Regions from separate parts of the Homo sapiens genome. Here region 2 is linked to region 1. Evidence: promoter capture Hi-C in human tissues and cell types (Jung and others, 2019). All regions are on one chromosome and are shown on one strand. The core of a region is centred on a gene start or on the middle of the fragment in contact, and the rest is flanking DNA. Distances in the headings are between cores, read along the strand shown.

Region 1 (4,834 bases), core at 670-3,169:
TGCAGGGCAGTGGTGTGATCTCGGCTCACTGCAACAGGGAGCCTCCTGAGCAGCTGGGATTACAGGTGCCCACCGCCTCACCCGGCTAACTTTTTGTATTTTTAGTGGAGCCGGGGTTTCACCATGTTGGCCAGGCTGGTCTGGAACTCCTGACCTCAGGTGATCCGCCCGCTATGGCCTCCCAAAGTGCTGGGATTACAGGCGTAAACCACCGTGCCTGGCCAAAGGAATTGAGTCTTAATCCCTTTTGCATCTTCAGTCTTTAGGATAACGTCTGACACACAACAGGCATTAAATATTTGTTGGATGAATGAACTGAACTGCATAGAATGCAGAAAGCCTACATATACTGGCCAGGCACAGTGGCTCACACCTGTAATCCCAGCACTTTGGGAGGCCGAGACGGGCGGATCACCTGAGGTCAGGAGTTTGAGACCAGCCTGGTCAACATAGCAAAACCCGGTCTCTATTAAAAATATAAAAATTAGCCGGGCATGGTTGTGGGCGCCTGTAATCCCAGCTACTCGGGAGGCTGAGGCAGGAGAATCGTTTGAATCTGGAAGGAGGAGGTTGAGGTGAGCCGAGATCGCACCACTGCACTCCAGCCTCGGCGACAAGAGGGAGACTCCGTCTCAAAACAACCAACCAACAAGCCTACATATCCTGCCACACGTGCTACAATCCACAGCAAACTGTTTCATCCACATTCAACCACTTTCTTAAAGTCACCATCATGATCCTATCAAGAAAACCGTAATTTATATGGTATTTTAATGTGCCTTTATAAATTACTAATCACTTTCTTCATGATGTATGTTAAAATGGCTTATGTCACCTGATGTAATCCTTAATGAGGGAAATAAAAGGCCATGATTATGCCTGGCTTTTTTTCTTATATGTTAGATTTGAGTGTTAAAATGACCTCGAAGCGGCGAAAGAAAGGAACGGAACTGCCCTCCACATTAAAAATGAGCAGGCTCCATAGGTTAATTTTACTCTTCCTCACGCACGGCACTTACATGTTGCAAACTCTCTGCTCCACAGCACGCACAGACATCCCAAATCCCGGATTGGGCCTGAGGAACATCTCTGCAAAGAGCGCCAGGAGGGCGTGGGGGTCCCGCCTCTCTCGCCAGGGACCAGGGAGTGGACACTCACTGGTCCAGTCATGAGGAACTCAGCATCCTCCTGACGGGAGGCGCCTCTTTCCCAGAAGCGGTGGGTCAGGAGGAATCTGACTAAACCCTGGGTTGCCGGCCCGGAGGGCGCGGTTGACCCCGGGGCCTCGAGGTTGTGGGCGAGGAGTAATCCGCCCGCCGAGACCGACCCGCAGATCCAGGAGACCGAAACCCGAGGGCGGCGCTCCAGGGTGCTGAGGAGACCGGAAAGGCGGCCAGGACCTTCCGGTCGCCTCGGCCCACCACCCACCCAGTGTCCGCGCAGCCCTAAAGCCTGGCAGACGCGGAGCGCACGCGGCCTTTGCCTCGGCCAGGACAGGGCAGCGGGGAGAGGGCTGCTAGACAACAATTCTTGACCCCTCCTCGACCCACGACCGCCAGGTAGGCGCGCAAAGCTCCTACACCTGCGGCGCGCCCCCGTCCCCTGGTCCAGCGGACACGCCACGCACGCAGCCCCGCCCAGCGCCGCTCGCGGTAGGGGCGGAGCCGCTGAGCTGGCCAAAGCGGATTTGCCCAGCTAGGCCAGGGGCGGGGCAGGCCCTCCCAGCCAGGACCAGCCCCAGTCTCCCCGCCCCTGAGCCGTGAAGGAAATAGGGACCTGGCCCTGGGCCTTGTGTAGCGGGAGGGGGAGCTAGGAAGCAGCTGAGGGCAGAATCCAGGAGGGCCTGGCTGCGGGGGAATGAAGCCTCCGCCTTCGCAGGCAAAAGCCTTTAAATACGGGCTCAGGCCCGGGACTCAGAGTGTAACGCGTGGCAGCCTGAGGGAGGGGCGTGCGCCGAGAGGGAGCTCAGATCGAGCGGGGCGCGGGTGGAGAAGCTGCGGCGGCGCGGCCCGTAGGAAGGTGCTGTCCGAACGATCGGGATAGGAGCGGTCCCTGCGCTTGCTGCTGGGAAGTGGGTAAGCGCCGCTCCCAGGCTGGCCCCGCCGCCCGGGCGGGATGCTCCCAGGTCTGGGCGGGATGTGGAGGGAGCGGGGCTGGGGTGTGCGCGCTGCTCCCGGTCGCTCGCTGCGCTGGGTCCCGGGCTTCCCGTCTCACGACCTTCGTCTCTTTGGGGCTTAGGGCGGGAACCGCATTTTGGAACTGCTGTCCTGGGGATGTGGTCGTCTGGGCTTCTTATTCAAGACTCGTGAGTCTTCCAGCCCCTTCTCTTTCTGCCTTTACCCACTTTCCTGACTTGGATGAGATTTCCCTGCCGCCTCCAAAGCCGAACGCCCACCACAGGAAGCGGTTCTCTCGTTGGGGACCTCATTTTGGCCGCAGAGTCGTAGTCTTTTGTTTGTGTTTAAGAGTCTGCTCACCTGAGGGGCTCCTGCTTTTCTCATGCCGCCCCTCTTAAGAAACCAAAGAGAAACGAAGCCAGAAAGCCCTCTTGAGAGCAAAATACTAAGACTGCCGTGATATCTGTCCGGGATGTCCTGGAATCCATTGTTGGCCCCCTACACCACAGAATTGCTCTGTTTGATGTCGGGGAAGGCCTTTCCTGGGTGCCTCGGGAGACCATGTTTGTGTGAGATCTTGAAAAATTATACGTCCTATAAATATATAGGAAGATAACTTAGTAGGGTTAGGAATTCTAGTATAGAGAAAAGAGGGGTTCGCTGGTAGGGATCTATTCATGGGCATACAGAGCAGTAGCTGTCTATCGACAGACCTCAAAGACACAGTGAGCCTTTGAGTTTCTTCAAATCCCTTAAGAAATGGAGAACAGTAGTCTTTCTTCAGGGGGGTTCTGGAAATGAAAGAGCTGACTGTCTGCTCTGAGATGTGCTTATTAGTGGCCAGGATCCAGTTTAAGGTAAGGGGTAGACAACCCTGATTGAAAAGATCTCATTTCTTCTCCCGTTGCTGTACTCCTTTTTCTAACAAAATCTATAACTGGATAAGCATAATCCATCTTCCTTCTTGTTTACTTCCACAGCTTTACATGATAACCCTTAGACATAAAATTAATACCGGCTTTCTTACTGATTAAATATTTTTCTCTGGTCAGGCATCTTTTACTGTTTAATTTCTGGAAATGATTAAAATGTGTGAAGCTGATGTATCCAACTATAATGCCCATCGTTAGCTCCTGGGTACCTATGCAAAATATGCTGTAGAGAGCTGGGGCTAGAAGGATTATATTCCGTTTAGATTGTAGTAGGGCATTTGTTATTTGTTAGTGACCCCTTCTGGGTTGGAATGTTTATTTGAATTTATGAAATTTTACATGAAGAGTAGTTTTGGAACGGTTTGGTTTGTTGTGACTCTCCCAAAATACAGAGGTAAAAACTCATTTCAAAATAACCCATTTAATAAGGAAACACTCCTATGTCTCTGACAGCAGAATAGAGGGCCAGAGGGTACATAAAAGTAGAAATAGAAAATGGGGGCCGGGCGTGGTGGCTCACGCCTGTAATCCCAGCACTTTGGGAGGCCGAGACGGGCGGATCACGAGGTCAGGAGATCGAGACCATCCTGGCTAACATGGTGAAATCCCGTCTCTACTAAAAATACAAAAAAAAATTAGCCGGGCGTAGTGGCGGGCGCCTGTAGTCCCAGCTACTCGGGAGGCTGAGGCAGGAGAATGGCATGAACCTGGGAGGCAGAGCTTTCAGTGAGCCGAGATTGCGCCACTGCACTCCAACCTGGGCAACTGAGCGAGACTACGTCTCAAAAAAAAAAAAGAAAAAGAAAAGAAAATGGGGCTGGGCGCAGTGGCTCACGCCTGTAATCCCAGCACTTTGGGAGGCCAAGGTGGATGGATCACCTGAGGTCAGGAGTTCGAGACCAGCCTGACCAATATGGTGAAACCCCGTCTCTACTAAATATATAAAAACTAGCTGGGCGTGGTGGTGGGCACCTGTAATCCCAGCTACTCGGGAGGCTGAGGCAGGAGAATTGCTTGAACCCAGGAGACGGAGGTTGCAGTGAGCCGACATGGTGCCACTGCACTCCAGCCTCGGTGACAGTGAGACTCCGTCTCAAAAAGAAAAAAGAAATAGAAAATGGAGTTGGCAGACATCTGTGTCATGCAAAGTGTGTCACTAACACTATGTCAAACTCCATGTTAAAGCTTATTGAAGATTTTATTGAAACTTCCAAGTGAGCATTTATTTGGACTTGCACAGATTGTACATCAGCCTTTTCATTGATTCTCCCATTGTCATCGGTAAGCCGTATTTCATGGGAAATAGCAAGGCGAGAATACCCAAAATAAAGCTTGTGTAAAACACATCCAGTTCTGTGATACAAGTTCACCTGCCATCAGTAGTCTATCCCAGCTGATGTATGTAAAGCAAGTTGAAATGTGGTCTCACAATCAAGGCAGATAAGAAGTAACTCTGGGGAAACATGCTGAAGTTCTTTAGGTAACTCAAAAAAAGAACTTGGCCAGATGCGATGGCTCACACCTGTAATCCCAACACTTTGGGAGGCTGAGGCAGGTGGATCAACTGAGGTCAGGAGCTTGAGACCAGCCTGGCCCACATGGTGAAAACCTGTCTCTAGAAAAAATACAAACATTAGCTGGACATGGTGGCGGACACCTGTAGTCCCAGGTACTTGGTACTTGGGAGGCTAGGTGGGAGACTCACTTGAACCTGGGAGGCGGAGGCTGCGGTGAGCCCAGATTGTGCTGTTGCACTCCAGCCTGGGCAACAGAGTGAGACCTTGT
Region 2 (4,834 bases), core at 700-3,199, 550 kb before region 1:
AACAAAAAAAGAAATATGTATCTATCTGTTATAACATCCTAAACACTTAGGAAAACAGTATAAATTATGGCAGAACTCATCCTTTGGAATACTATGCAGTAATAAAAAAAAGTTGGTGGAATATAGAAATAAGATGTGTAGGCCTGGCACAGTGGCTCATGCCTGTAACCCCAGCACTTTGGGAAGCCGAGGCAGGCGAATCATAAGGTCAGGAGTTCCAGACCAGCCTGGCCAATATGGTGAAACCCCATCTCTACTAAAAATACAAAAATTAGCCAGGCATGGTGGCATGCACCTGTAGTCCCAGCTACTGAGGAGGCTGAGGCAGAAGAATCACTTTAACTGGGAGGCAGAGGTTGCAGTGAGCTAAGATCGCGCCACTGCACTCCAGCCTAGGCGACAGAGTGAGACTCCATCTCAAAAAAATAAATAAATAAAAGAAAAGCTGTGTAAAAACTGGATAGACCTCTGAGACATGTTGTTAAATGTTAAAGCCAGTTGCTGAAAAATATATACCTTTAATTCCAAGTGTATTTCTGTATAATACATCAATACTGTCTATAATCCTTAACTACTTATTGCAGTACTAGTCTTGCTTAATTTAGAGTCAGTCGGTATTACTGACTTATTAATTTCCATCTATATGTGTTTATATCTACAACTAATAATGTTTCTTGAGAACATGGATCATGATATATACGCCAAAATGGTACTATGCATAGTACCACACATAAAACAGGTGCACAAATATTTATGGATGGCTAACAATATGTAAAATATGAAGAAGCAAGATTGGCCTATTTTTTATTTATTTACTTTTTTTTTTTTCTTTACAGAGTCTCACTCTGTCGCCCAGGCTGGAGTGCAGTGGCAAGAGCTCAGCTCACTGCAGCCTCTGCCTCCCAGGCTCAAGCAATTCTCATGTCTCAGCCTCCCAAGTAGCTGGGATTATAGGTGCATGCCAACATGTCCCACTAATTTTTGTATTTTTAGTGGAGACGGAGTTTTGCCATGTTAGCCAGGCTGGTCTCAAACTCCTGGCCTCAAGTGATCTGCCTGCCACAGCCTCCCAAAGTGCTGGGATTACAGGCGTGAGGCACCATGCCCAGCCAAGACTGGCCTTTAAGAAGCAGAGAAACGAAAACACTCATTAAATAGAAAAACTAACACCACAATTCAGTTCTTTATGCTTCCTCAGTCAACATGTCTTATACCACGAAAGCTCTTTTGAAAATTCTAGTAACAAAATCTGTGATTATATTTTCCTTCTCATGAGGTGTTTTTTTAGTCCCTCAAATATATAAGTAAAAGCTTAGAAACCTGTGTAGGCCAGGCGTGGTGGCTCACACCTGTTGTCCCAGCACTTTGGGAGGCCGAGGCAGGCGGATCACTTGAGCCAAGGAGTTTGAGACCAGCCTGGGCAACATGACAAAACGCCATCTCTGGGCCAGACACGGTGGCTCACGCCTGTAATTCCAGCACTTTGGGAGGTCAAAGTGGGTGGATCACTTGAGGTCAAGGGTTAAGAGACTAGCCTGACCAATATGTGAAACCCCATCGCTACTAAAAATACAAAAATTAGCTGGGCATGGTGGCACACATCTGTAATCCCAGCTACTTGGGAGGCTGAGGCAGAAGAGTTGCATGAACCCAGGAGACGGAAGTTGCAGTGAGCCAAGATCGTGCCACTGCACTCCAGCCTGAGCAATAGAGCAACACTCCATCTCAAAAAAAAGCAAAAACAAGCAGGGCTCGGTGGCTCACGCCTGTAATCCCAGTACTTTGGGAGGCTGAGGCGGGCGGATCACCTGAGGTTGGGAGTTTGAGACCAGCCTGACCAACATGGAGAAAACTTGTCTCTACTAAAAATAAAAAATTAGCTGGATGTGGTGGCATGCGCCTGTAATCCCAGCTACTTGGGAGGCTGAGGCAGGAGAATCGCTTAAACCTGGGAAGCAGAGGTTGCAGTGAGCTGAGATCATGCCATTGCACTACAGCCTGGGCAACAAGAATGAAACTCCACCTCAAAAAAACAAAACAAAAACAAAAACCATCTCTACCAAAAAATACAAAAATTAGCTGGGTGTGGTGGCATGCACCTGTAGTCCCAGCTACTCGGGAGGCTGAGGTGAGAGAATCGCTTGAGCCTAGCAGTTTGAGGCTGAAGTGAGTCAAGATTGCGCCACTGTACTTCAGCTTAGGTGATACAGCAAGACTCAATTTAAAAAAAAAAAAAAATCTTATGTGTAAAATATTCATACTCTACAACTTTAATAACACTTACTGTCTGTCTAGCATCGATGCTGTCAACATGCTCATTAAGGCCACAGTTGATATATGCAAACTCTACACCTCTTCTTGTTATCCAACATGTCTTCTTACTATGAAAGGAAAGTTATATATTAAAGTCAAATTCACATCAAACTATAATCACAAAAGAAATCAAAGTCAAAAATGTCTATAATATTTATAATATATATGATATTCCAAAAAGAAAGTGACAAAAGAGAAAAGACAAGAAAGACTGCACTTATTGCCACTGGAGGTGACTATTGCACTCTGAAAAAGTCTGTATAAAAGAAAGTAACTAAGCATCTATTCTGCCTTTAAGTAGAACACTAATTCCAGGTAACAAAATAGCCTTAGTTGATGAGAGAAACCTTATCTTTATAGAAGGTGGCTAGCTACTAAATGTATAAGGAACAACAGAACCCAAAACTAATTACCATTTTTTAACCAATAATTAAATAGCTAATCAAGAATCATCAATGAATGCTAAAATCATTAGGTGAAAAGTTGGTAAAGAAATTGACCTGGCCAGGTGCGGTGGCTCACACCTGTAATCCCAACACTTTGGAGGCCAAGGTGGGTGGATTACTTGAGGTCAGGAGTTTGAGACCAGCCTGGCCAACATGGTGAGACCCCGTCTCTGCTAAAAATAAAAATTAGCTGGGCATGGTGGTGCACACCTGTAATCCCAGCTACTCAGGAGGGAGGCTGAGACAGGAGAATCACCTGGGAGGCAGAGATTGCAGTGAGCCGAGATGGCACCATTGCAGTCCAGCGTGGGCAACAGAGAGAGGCTCTGTCCCAAAAAAAAAAAAAAGTCCCACAAAAATAAAAGAAAGAAATTTATCTGGGGCCGGGAGTGGTAGCTCACGAGTGTAGTCCTATTACTTTGGGAGGCCTGGGGGGGTACAGGGAGGGATTGCCTGAGCTCAGGAGTTGGAGACCAGCCAGGGCAACGTGATGAAACCTCATCTCTACTAAAATTACAAAAATTAGCCAGGTGGGCCGAGCGCGGTGGCTCACGCCTGTAATCCCAGCACGTTGGGAGGCCGAGGTGGGTGGATCACGAGGTCAGGAGATCAAGACCATCCTGGCAAACATGGCGAAACCCCATCTCTACTAAAAATACAAAAATTAGCTGGGCATGGTGGCACGTGCCTATAATCCCAGCTACTCAGGAGGCTGAGGCAGGAGAATTGCTTGAACCAGGGAGTCGAAGGTTGCAGTGAGCCAAGATCACGCCACTGAACTCCAGCCTGGCGACAAAGTGAGACTCCATATCAAAAAAAAAAAAAAAAAAAAAATTAGCCAGGCATAGTGGCACACGCCTGTAGTCTCAGCTTACTCAGGAGGCTGACGCACAAGAATCACTTGAACCCGGAAGGCGGAGATTGCAGTGAGCTGAGATTGTGCCACCGCACTCCAGCTTGGGTGACAGAAGGAGACTCCATCTCAAAAAAGAAAAAAAAAATTAGCCAGGCATAGTGGCAAATGCTTGTAGTCCCAGCTTACTCAGGAGGCTGACGCATGAGAATCGCTTGAACCCGGGAGGCAGAGGTTGCAGTGAGCTGAGATTGTGCCACTGCACTCCAGCCTGGGTGACAGAGTGAGTCTCTGTCTCCAAAAAGTCAAAAAATAAAATAAAATAAAATAAAAATGTTTTTTAAAAAAAGAAATTTGAGGCCGGGGGCAGTGGCTCACACCTATAATCCCAGCACTTTGGGAGGCCAAGGCAGGAGGATCACCTGAGGTCAGGAGTTCAAGACCAGCCTGGCCAATATGGCGAAACTTCGTCTCTACTAAAAATACATAATTAGCTGGGCGTGGTGGCGAGAGCCTGTAGTCCCAGCTACTCGGGAGGCTGAGGCAGGAGAATCACCTGAACCCAAGAGACAGAGGTTGCAGTGAGCCGAGATCGCACCATTGCACTCCAGCCTGGGCAACAAGAGCAAAACTCCGTCTCAAAAAAATAAAAAATAAAAAATTTACCTGATGTCAAAGTACCACCCTATAGATTACTACTTGCTAGAAGCAAAAAGAAAACCATAACTTTATAATGAAATGATCAGGTTCTCACCACATTAGCTTGGTGATCAAATACAGCATCAAAATAGTGGGACCTGACATTATATGCCTCTTAACTAGAAACAGTAGGAAGTACACAGCATTACTAAATGAGATACTCTTCCAAAACTGTTTAACCTAAGTCTACTCACACCTTTAGATCTAACTCCCAGTTTACAGGAAATAAATATAGGGGATAGAGGAAGAAGTAATACTACACCATGAGGAAACAAGCAGCAATACAAAATGTAATCGTCTCAACAGACCTAACAGGTCAATACCACAGGGAAGGAGAGGCAGAGTAGGGAAGGAGAGGCAGAGTAGAGAAGGAGGTGGATGGGTAGAAGAGACAGTTCTACCTATATATTTAAAAAGACTCAAGATTACAACCCAAATGCAACGGGTAGTTCTTGACTGAAATCTGGCATTTAAAAAAAAAACACCAGCCTGGCCAACATGGTGAAACCCCGTCTCCACTAAA

What was found. Contacts are between HindIII fragments. The study calls those that stand out against the background at their distance.
Region 2: a contact is called between a fragment that was not itself captured here and the fragment with the promoter of UGDH in region 1, in 1 of the 25 tissues and cell types used here (mesendoderm cells).

The regions. Positions count from the first base shown.
Region 1 is chr4:39,524,524-39,529,357 of GRCh38, reverse strand. It overlaps UGDH (UDP-glucose 6-dehydrogenase), which reads left to right and starts at 1,919. Exons shown (of 12, transcript NM_003359.4): 1 at 1,919-2,075. UGDH-AS1 (UGDH antisense RNA 1) reads right to left here and starts at 1,519. Exons shown (of 5, transcript NR_047679.1): 1 at 1,020-1,519. RefSeq lists an enhancer at 1,035-1,094 and silencers at 1,475-1,774, 2,025-2,204. The HindIII fragment of the contact is 14,033 bases long and covers 1-4,834 here.
Region 2 is chr4:40,071,002-40,075,835 of GRCh38, reverse strand. N4BP2 (NEDD4 binding protein 2) reads right to left here. Exons shown (of 18, transcript NM_018177.6): 2 at 2,285-2,381. Among named protein-coding and RNA genes, the nearest start is that of N4BP2, 17 kb to the right of the region's middle. The HindIII fragment of the contact is 4,840 bases long and covers 1-4,369 here.